Regions from separate parts of the Homo sapiens genome. Here region 2 is linked to region 1. Evidence: promoter capture Hi-C in 16 types of primary human blood cells and fetal thymus (Javierre and others, 2016). All regions are on one chromosome and are shown on one strand. The core of a region is centred on a gene start or on the middle of the fragment in contact, and the rest is flanking DNA. Distances in the headings are between cores, read along the strand shown. Region 1 holds the start of DDC (dopa decarboxylase). Region 2 overlaps COBL (cordon-bleu WH2 repeat protein).

The links. The method cuts DNA at HindIII sites, captures the fragments that hold promoters and counts their contacts. A CHiCAGO score of 5 or more calls a contact.
Region 2: a contact is called between a fragment that was not itself captured here and the fragment with the promoter of DDC in region 1, in 1 of 17 cell types (erythroblasts). The highest score is 7.0, in erythroblasts.

The regions. Positions count from the first base shown.
Region 1 is chr7:50,564,155-50,569,671 of GRCh38, reverse strand. It overlaps DDC (dopa decarboxylase), which reads left to right and starts at 4,267. Exons shown (of 15, transcript NM_001082971.2): 1 at 4,267-4,387. The HindIII fragment of the contact is 1,002 bases long and covers 4,101-5,102 here.
Region 2 is chr7:51,095,010-51,100,412 of GRCh38, reverse strand. The region is part of intron 6 of COBL (cordon-bleu WH2 repeat protein); the gene reads left to right. Among named protein-coding and RNA genes, the nearest start is that of COBL, 220 kb to the left of the region's middle. The HindIII fragment of the contact is 982 bases long and covers 3,048-4,029 here.

The sequences.
Region 1 (5,517 bases), core at 3,018-5,517:
TTTAAAATTACATAGAAAACATAGGCATAGCTAGTTGTCCATGAGTTGCCTTGTCTAGCTTTTTGTAGTCATTGATTAATCCTCACTTTCAGATTTCACAAATCTCGACCCACTTTATTTTTATAGAATGAGATCATCTCTTGATAGAGGCCTTTGCAGTCTGATCACAACCTACAGTAAGAAATGCATTCTATATTATGACCCAGTACACATATTCCTGTACATCATTGAAAGGTTCAGAAAGCAATATTTTCATCATTAGGTGCAATGTCTCCTGTTTTATATTTTATTCTGTTCTATTGCATTTTTTAAAATGCTGGTCATGAGACCTGCAAAACCCATTCCATGACCCACCAATAGTCTGAGGCCAATGATTTGAGACTTTTGAGAGAAAAACAAACTTGGAGGACTGACACTGCCCAACTTAAAGACTTACTACAGCCAGGCGCAGTGGCTCACGCCTGTAATCCCAGCACTTCGGGAGGCCGAGGTAGGTGGATCATTTGAGGTAAGGAGTTCAAGACCAGCCTGGCAACATGGTGAAACCCCATCTCTACTAAAAATACAAAAATTAGCCAGGCGTGGTGGTACATGCCTGTAATCTCAGCTACTCGGGAGGCTGAGGCACAAAAATTGCTTGAACCTAGGAAGTGGAGGTTGCAGTGCACCGAGATAGCGCCACTGCACTCCAGCCTGGGCAACAGAGCGAGACTGTGTCTCAAATAAGTAAGTAAATTAATAAGTAAATGAATAAAAGACTTACTACAAAGCTACAGTAGTTAAGAAAGTGCTATTGGTAAAAGAATAGACAGATGAATGGAACAGAATAGAGAGCTCAGAAATAGACCCACACAAATATGGTGAAATGGTCTTTGACAAAGGAGTGAAGGCAATACAATGAAGAAAGGATAGGCTCTTTGACAAATGGTTGTGGAATAAATGGACGTCCACATGCAAAAAAAAAAAAAGAATCTAGATCTAGACCTTTACTCAAAATGGTTCATAGACTTAAAGGTAACATGCAAAACTATAAAACTCCTAGAGGATGACACAAGAGAAAATCTAGTTTAGTTTGATGATGACCTTTTAGATAAATCACCAGTTTCCTCCATTAAATACAATCTATGGAGGAAAAGGACTGATGAATTGGACTTCATTAAAATAAAAAACTTCTACGCTGGAAGAAAAGAAAACAGAATTGATATTCTCACCAGCTCCTAAACAAATTGGCTTTTCCAGGAAAACTCAGTTCCCCTGACACTCCTGTCTGTGGGCTTGGCCAGAGTGTGGGCATAGCAGTAGAGCTCCTCTCTCTTCACCCATGGCCTCAGCAAAGCCCCCAGTGCCCACTTTGCTCTGGCACACAGTGGTCTCAGCAGGAAGCCCCGTCTCTTCTGCTCCCAGGAGCCACACTCAGGTGCACTGTGAATCTCTTTCACAGTCACGTCTGCACCTGCAGTCTCCCTCCTGCAACATGCACACTGTTGCGACTGACTGCAGGCCACTCTGGCATCATGAGAGATGGCCGTTGCTGCTCCTGTGGAAGAGCAGACTCACCCTCTTCCAGGAACAGCCTTGGCTGCAACCCATGCTACCTTCCCCTGCCCTGGGGCATTACAAGGTCACACGAGATCAGCCTTTCTCAACCAGGGGCAATTTTGCCACCAGGAAACATGCAATGCCTGGAGACATTCTTGGTTGTCACAACTGGGGACTACTGGCACCTAATGAGTAAAAGCCGGATGCTGCTAAACATTCTATAATGCACAGGACAGCTCCCATCACAGAGAATTATACACCCTTAATGTAATAGTGCTGGGATGGTTAATGTTATGTGTCGACTGAAGTGGGCTAAGAGATGCCCAGAGGGCCAGTAAAGCAGGATTTCTGGTTGTGTTCATGAGGGTGTTTCTGGAAGAGATTGGCATTGGAATCTCCAGAAAGTAAACAAGATCCATCCTCACCAGTGTGGGCTGGTAACATCCAGTTTGTTGAGTGCCAGAATAGAACAAAAAGGTGGATGAAGGGCAAATTCTTTCTCTTCTTGAGCTGGGATATCCATCTTCTCCTGCTCTTGGGCCTTCAAACTCAGGATGAATTACACCACCAGCTTATCTAGTTCTCCGGCCTGTAGATGGAAGACTGTGGGACTTCCCAGCCTCCATAATCACATGAGCCAATTTCTACAATAAATCTCTTCTTATATTCCTATATCCATATCCTATTATTTCCAGTTTTCTGGAGAAACCTGACTGATAAAGTGCCATGGTTGGGAAATCCTGCCCTAGATTTCTTTCTTTGGTCCTCGAAGCCTCACCCCTATTCCCCATAAATCCCACACCTGCAAGAAGAAAGGAAATGTAAAAAGAGTCCCTTCTGGGAACGGATGCTGATTCCTATGTAGATTTCTCTATTGAGAGATAACTGTTGCTCAGTAGTTGGACACTACTAGTTCACTTTTTTGAGGATTTCAAAACTGAGGTCTCTCTTCTCTATGGATGTTTTTTTTCCAGTCCTATTGCTTCAAATATCATCTAAACACTTTCAACCCATAACTTTATTTCCTGTCTGGGCCTCTTTTTCTGAGCTGTACTGGACATCTCAAATCACACGATTTGTGGATATCTGAAATTTAATTCCCAAACTGAATCCTTGGTGTCCTTCACCTCCCCACACCCAATACTGGTCCACCCCAGTCTTCTTCCTCTCAGTCTATGACCGTCATCCCCTGCCCACTGGCTTCATCACTGGGTAGTCGTTCCATCCCCTTGACTCCTCCCCTTGTCCAGCAACCTCCTAACATGCACACACACACACGCACTTATGGGGAATATTAGCACGCTTCTTCATCTCAAGCCCCCCCTCCCTCCCCCAGCCCATCTCCTAGAATGGATTCACTTGAATTCACTCCTGGTTTGCAGGAAAGTGCAGAAATCCAAGGAATGTGGTGGGAATTGGTGGTCCAACTTAAAGGGTCTAACCCTTTCACCCTTATCTCCCTCTGATCCATTTTCTACCCCAGAGCCAGAGTGATCTTAAACCATAAGTAAGCTAAGGTTACTGCTTTCTAGAAACACTTCAATGCCTTCTATTACAGTTGGGGGGATACAAATTACGTAACGTGGCTTGCAAGACTCCCCCTCCCCTACTTTGAATGGTCCTTAGGAGTTGGCCTTCTGTCAGGGCCTGGGAGATGCCGAGCTTGATCCTCAGTAACTTTGCAGAGGCTGTTCCCTCTTTGGAGCCCTTCCCTCACTCTTCCCCTTACCAAGGACAATCACTTCTTCGGTTCTCAGCTCCTGTGAGACCCCAGGCGGGAGCATTTGGGTGTGCGTCATTGGAGGGCTCACTTGCCATTCTTTCTCTTTTCCCTCTTTCCTCCAATGGCTCCTGTGGAGGTTTTGAGACTCCTCAATGTCACTCTGCTTCTCTCTCCAGTTCCAGTCCTAACAATAGGAACCCTAGGTGCCCCGCCCCAGCCTGCTCCAGTCCCCTAGGATAGAGCAAGGAGAGCTCTTCCCTGCATCTAGCCTGTGACAAATGGCTCTAGTGACAGCCCTCTCTGCCTTGTTTCCAGTCCTTTAATGAGCTGCCCGCAGCCAGCCTCACTCTCACTCTGCTCTTCACACCCACTGAGCCCCACGCTTGGAGCTGCTGGGGGTCTGCCAGAAAGACCAGCTCCTAAGATCCCTGCAGGCTGTGCCTGCTCAACTTCTCAATGTGGCTTTCTCAGCCCTGCTTTGTGCTCTCATAAAATTCTATCGACTTTGGGGTTTTTTTATAAATTTGTCCAAATTCCACTCAGAGTATTGTTTCATGCATCTCAACTATGATTTTGATGGGTTTGGGGAAGGAAGGTGAGTTCCTGGGTTCTGCTGATATCTGAACCTGGAAATCTTACCCATATTGCTGAGTGCTGCACCGGGAAGTGCAGGCTTACTTTGGGGCTGCCTTCAGGGGCAGGAGGCTGTGTGCAATGCAGGCATCACCTGGTGCAGGGCTGGAACATATCAGATGACTTAATGGGCTCCAAACTTGAAATCAGGGCTGCTTAGTAAAAGATGGGATGTATGTAGAATTACATAAGAAAGATCCAAGCTTCCAGGATTTGGAATGAAACAGTCTCTTCAGAATGTGCTCTCAGGATTCCCAGAGGCGAGCTATTTCTCAAGATTTCCTTGACCTTTGTCACCATCAGGAATTAATGTTTAACTGGCACATGTGGCTGGAAATGCAAGAAGAGGGAAACGTGTGGCTTGGAGTTTCAAGAAGAGTGACTGTCTCAGTGCCGAGTGCCTCAGCAGCTTCTCCACATGCTCTTCAGTCCCCAAAGTTGGAGAATCCCATCAAGGAGAGTAGCCCTGTAAGGAATTCGAATTTCCAGCATGTAAGTCTCTGATTTTATACCTACTCAGATTGTAGTAGTGGAAAACAGCAACATGTACCTTGACTCTCTGGCCCCATGTTACTGAACATTTGCTTAAAGGTTAACTCACTTGAGGGAGCTTGTGTGGTGCTTTCTCTTCTGCTGCAGGCTGGCAGGGGTTTTTGTTCAGTGGGGGCTGTGCACTTGGTGGCTCTCCATGCACACACAGTCACTCCAGTGACACATGTTTGATAGGTGCTGGGAATGATTTCATGACTGGCTCAGTAGCAAATGCGGGCCAGATGTGATTCTATTTTTTCCATGCACCACCAGGGATGGTGTTGGGTATTTTATTCCCCCAGCCTCTGTTTCTTCTGTAAATGAGGATTTTCTTAGTATCTACCTTGTGAGGATTAAATCCCATGATTTTATGGAGGTGATTAGTAAATGTGAACTCTGCCCTTCCCTTTATAACATCTGAGGCTCCGTCAGGGCTCTCTCCTTTTGGTGTATGTTATAGTTTACTTAGAGGTCAATTTGGTGTCTACCTATGCAGTGTGATTTGAGGAGAATTAGAAGATCTTTCCCACCAACTTGCCATGCTGAGTACAATTCCCATCTGAAAACATATGCGGATAGGAATTTCTATTGGGAGAATTGTTCGGTTATCGACTTCAAGGAGTCGAAGTTCTCCTGGTTTTAAGTCTGTTGTCGGAAGTATATAAGAATCAAAGCTTAATCGATGGAAATCATTGCTCTCCATCATGCGTGAGTTAAAACCATTACTTCTGAGTGGTCAGTTTACATTGGGCTCTGTCTAGAAGGTTTGCCTTCTTCACCTCCAGTCACATCCCCATTTCACAAGTGAGCAAACAGCCAGAGGAGGGGAGGAGGATGGCATAAGATCTTGCAGCTGGCAGAGACGAAATGTGAATGTAGCCCGTTTGCACTTGGTGCTGTCGGGCAGCCAAGCAATCCAGTGTGTAGGTCCAGGGCGACAAGCGCTGCTCCCATGGCTGGGGTAAGTCCCTCCAGCATTCAGCCTTGCTCCCTGTGCTTATCTGGATGCGGTGTAGGATGAAGATGACCCTATAGAACTCTACCCTGGAAGTCCTGGCAAAGTGGATATGTGACATTTTTGAAACCAGGGA
Region 2 (5,403 bases), core at 2,289-4,788, 530 kb before region 1:
AGATTGTGTGAATGCTATAGAATTATCTCTCCTCCATTAGACTTTGAACAGCTTGAGGTCAGGAACGTTTTACATCTTTGAATCCACTACAGTTCCTATCACAGAGAAAGGACTCAGCAGCCCCTTGCTAGTTAATTGAAGGAGTAAGTGAAATCGTGGCATTTAACAAAGTCTCTCAATATTTTAAGGAGAGAATGAGAAATAGAGACTAGAAAATAATACGTGGGCAAACCTATAACATTTGAACAATCACCATTAGTTAATAGATTGATGTCAACTCTGAAGGAAGAAGTCTAGTAACTAAAGCCAAGGTGTTATGGCTTTCAGTGTTATCAACAAATAGGGTGGAAATAATAGGCAGGATTACCACAGTGGAGGTGGTGGCAAGGCCAGGCATCTCATCTCTTCCTAAGAACTCTTGAATACTCAGGTATAAGGTCGAGTCAGGGCTTCTAAAAGACTAGAACACCACATCACACCAGCCTCTAGGCCTAGAAAAGTCTTACAAGTTAGAACAGTGGGCTAAAGTGATAAGTAGGTATTAACAGAAAAAATGGAAAGGTTTCATATCCATTTATTTGAAAGAATTCTGGTGATATTATCACAAACCGAATGTGAGCTAACCAGATGACAAGGACTCTTTATTATTAATAATAATGGTGGTTAAAAAATTGTGGTTAAAAAAACCACATAGCATGAAATGTATAATCTTAATCATTTTTAAGTGTCATGTTTAATATAGGCACCTCTAGATCACTAGAACTTTTTCATATTGCATAACTGAAATTTTATACCCATTGAAAAATAATTCATCTTTTCCCCCTCCCTCAAGCTCCTGGCAACCACCATTCTACTTTCTAAAGTTTGACTACTTTATATAGCTCATGTAAATGGAATTATGCGATTATTTGTCTTTTTGTGACTGGCTTATTTCACTTAGCATAACCTTTTCAAAGTTTCTCTAAGTTACAGCATGTGTCAGAATTTCCTTGATAATGTTCCACTCTGTGTATAGACCACATTTTCTTTATGCATTCATCCATCAATAGATATTTATGTTGCTTCCACCTCTTGGTTATTGTGAACTGTGCTGCAGTGAACAAGAACACATCTCTTTGAAATTCTGTTTGCTGTTCTTTTGGATGTATATCCAGAAGTGGGATTGCTAGATTATGTGGTAATTCTATTTTTAATTTTTTGAGGTACTTTATACTTATTCCATAGTACTTGTATCATTCCACATTCCTACTAACAATGCATAAGAATTCTAATTTCTCCGCATCCTCACCAACACTTGTTTTCTCTCTTTTTTTTTTTTTTTGATAGTGGCCATCCTAGTGGAAGTGAGGTGATATCTTATTGTAATTTTGATTTGCATTTCCCAGATGATTAGTGATGTTGAGCATCTTTTCATATGCTTTGTGGCCATTTGTATATCTTCCTTGGAGAAACGTCTCTTCAAATTCTTTGCCTCTTTGTAAATCAGATTGTTTGCTTATTGTCATTGTTGACTTGATGCTCTTTATATAGTCTATATATTAACCCCCTTTCAGACATATGGTTTATAGATATTTTCTCTCATTCTATAGGTTCCCTCTTCACTCTGTTGATTGTTTCCTTTGTTGCACAATAGCTTTTAAGTATGATATACTCACATTAGTCTATTTTTGCTTTTGTTGTCTGTACTTTTGGTGCCATATCTAAGAAACCATTGCCAAATAGAATGTCATAAAGATTTCCCTCTATGTTTTCTTCTAGGAACTTTATAATTTCAGGTCTTACATTTGGATGTTTAATCCATTTTAATTTTTTTATATGGTTAACGGTAAGGGCCCAATTTCATTCTTTTGTATTTGAATATTTTGCATTTTCCAAACACCATTTGTTGAAGAAACTATCTTCCACATTGTGTTAACACCTTTATCAAAGATCATTAGATTATATACATGAAAGTTTATTTTTGAGCTCCTTATTCTGTTTCATTGATTTACACATTGTTCTCTATGTCAGTACCATACTGTTTTCATTATAGTAGCTTTGTAATATGTTTTGAAACCAGAAAGTGTGAGGCTTCCAGCTATGTTTTATTGTTTTCTTCCCCTCAAGATTGCTTTGGTTATTTGGAGTACTTTGAGATTCCATCATGACCTTTAGGATTTGTTTTTCCTATTTCTCCAAAAAAAAAAAAGAAACTGCTATTGGGATTTTGGTAGTGATTGCTTTGAATGTATAGATTGTTTTGGGTAGCATGGACATTTTAACATTATTAATACTTTCATGAAAATATTTATTGTGTCTTCTCTAATTCCAGCAATGTTTTGTAGTTTTCAGTGTGCAAGTCTTTTTTATCTCCTTGATTAAGCTTATTGCTTTTTTTTTTTTTTTTTTTGAGATGGAGTCTCGCTCTGTTGTCCAGGCTGGAGTGCAGTGGCGCAATCTTGGCTCACTGCAATCTCCGCCTGCCGGGTTCATGCCATTCTCCTGCCTCAGCCTCCTGAGTAGCTGGGACTACAGGTGCCCGCCACCATGCCCGGATAATTTTTTTGTATTTTTAGTAGAGACAGGGTTTCACTGTGTTAGCCAGGATGGTCTCGATCTGCTGACCTTGTGATCCACCCGCCTCGGCCTCCCAAAGTGCTGGGATTACAGGTGTGAGCCACTGCACCCAGCCTGATTAAGCTTATTTCTAAGTATTTTATTATTTTTAATGCAACTGCAAATTAAATTATTTTCTTAATTTCCTTTTTAGATTGTTTATTGTTAGTGTATAAAAACAAAACTGATTTTTTGGAATTGATTTTGTATCCTGCAACTTTGCTGAATGTATGTATTAGTTCTAACAGCATTTTTGTCAAATCTTTAGGATTTTCTACATATAAAATCATGTATATGCAAAAGGAATAATTTCACTTCTTCCGTTTTCAATTTAGATGCCTTATATTTCTTTTTCTTGCCTAATTGTTATGGCTAGGACTCCCAACACTATTTTCAATAGAAATGGGAAGAGAAGGTATTCTTTCCTTCTTCCTCGTCTTAAAGAGAAAGCTTTCAGTTTTTCACAATTGAGTATGATGTCAGCTGTGGGATTTTTATGTGTGGACTTTGTTAAGTTTAGGTAATTTCCTTTGATTCCTAGTTGTTGAGTGTTTTTTTAAATCATAAAAGGGTGTTGAGTTTTGTATGGTTTTTGTCTTTCACTGTGGCATATTACATTGATTGATGTTTTTATATTGAAGCATTCTTACCTTCCAGGAATAAATCCCGTGTGATTGTAGTGTATAATCCTTTTATTGTGATGTTGAATTCTGTTTGCTAGTGCTTGGTTGAGAATTTTTATACCAATGTTTCATCAGGGATACTGGTCTGTAATTTTCTTATACTATCTTTGTCTTATTTTTGGTGTCAGGGTCCTGCTGGCATCATAAAATGAGTCTGGAAGTCTTCCTCCTCATCAATATTTGGAAAGATTTTGAAAAGAATTTGTATTTGTTCTTTAAGTATTTGGTAGAATTCTCCATTGAAGCCATCTGGTTGTGGGCTTTTCTTTGTTGGAAGGTTTTTGGTTACTGATTCGATTTCCTGACTGCTTATAGGTTATGTCCAGAATTTTTGTTTCTTTATAACTCAGTCTTAGTAGGATATATGTTTGTAGAAATCTATCCATTTCTTCTAGGTTATCCAATTGGTTGGTGTGTAATTATTCACAATAGCCTCCTATGATCTTTTTTGTTTTTGTAGCATCACTTGTAATGTCTCTTTCTAATTTTTAAAATATGAGTCTTCTCTCATTTTTTACTTACTGTAACTAAGGGTAGTCAATTTTGTTGATCTTTTAAAAAAACTGAAATTCTGTTAATATTTTAACCAAAGTTCTTTTTTCCTTTTTCTATTTTCTATTTCATTTATTTCTGCCTTAATCTTTCTATTAAATGTTGGTTTAATTTGTTCTTTCAGTTTCCTGAGGTACAAAGTCATATTGCTGATGAGCTCTTTCGTTGTTTTTCATATGGGTGTTTATTATTACAAGCTTTCCTCTTAGAATTGCTTTGCCTGAATCCCATGAGTTTTGGCATATTATGGTTTTATTTTCATTTGTCTCAATATATTTTCTGACTACCCTTGTGATTTCTTCTTTGAACCATTGGTTGTTCAAGATTGTATTATTCAGTTTCCACATATTTGTGACTTTTTCACTTTTCGTTTTACTATTGATTTCTAGCTTCATTCCATTATTTATAGTCAGAAAAGATATTTGATATGATTTTCATATTTTTAATCTTGTTAAGACTTCTTTTGTGGCTTTAAATGTGATCTATCATAGAGAATGTTCTATATAACATAGAGACAGAGAAAGAGACAGAGATAGGTATCTGTTAGATCCCATTGGTCTATATTGTTGTTCAAGTCCTCTATTACTTATGGATCTCTCTGGTTAATCTATTCATTATTGAAAGTGGAGCATTGAAATATCCTACTTTAATTGTGTTTCTGTCTATTTCTACTTTCAATTATGTCAATGTTTGCTTTATGTATTTGAATACACTGCTGGTAGATGCGCATGTATTTATAGTTTTTATACCTTCCTAGTGAGTAGATCGTTTATCATTATATAAGGTCCTTCTTTGTTTTATGACAGTTTTTGACTTGAAGTCTATCTTATTTGATGTAATTATGGCCATATTCACTCTTTTAGTTACTATTTGCATGGAATATCTTTTTCCCTCCTTTTACTTCCAGCCTATTTATGTCCTTATATCCAGAGTGAATCTTTTGTAGACAGTGTATAGTTGGATCTTGTTTTTTAATCCATTCAGCCATGAATGGATTAAATATTTTGATTATATATTTTGATTGGGGAGTTTAATCCATTTACATTTAATTATTTACTAATAGAGAAGGACTTGTTACTATTTTGTTAATTGGTTTCCGTATATCTTGTAGTTTTGTTGCTCTTTTATTCTGTTGGCACTCTCCTTTGTATTTTGTTGACGTTTGTAGTTACATAGTAATATGGTTTGGCTGTGTCCCCCACTCAAATCTCATCTTCAGTTTTAGCTCCCATAGTTCTCACGTGTCGTGAGAGGGACCCAATGGGAGGTCATTGAATCATGGTGGTGGATCTGTCCCTTGCTGTTCTCATGATAGTGAATAAGTCCCATGAGATCTGATGGTTTTATAAAGGGGAGTTCCCCTGCACATGCTGTCTTTGCCTGCCGCCATGTAAGACATGATTTTGCTCCTCATTCACCTTCCACTGTGATTGTGAGGCCTCCCCACCCATGTGGAACTGTAAGTTAATTAAACCTCCTTCCTTTATAAATTGCCCATTCTTTGGTATGCCTTTATTAATTAGCAGCATGAGAACAGACTAATACACAGACTTTGATTCCTTTTCATTTCTCC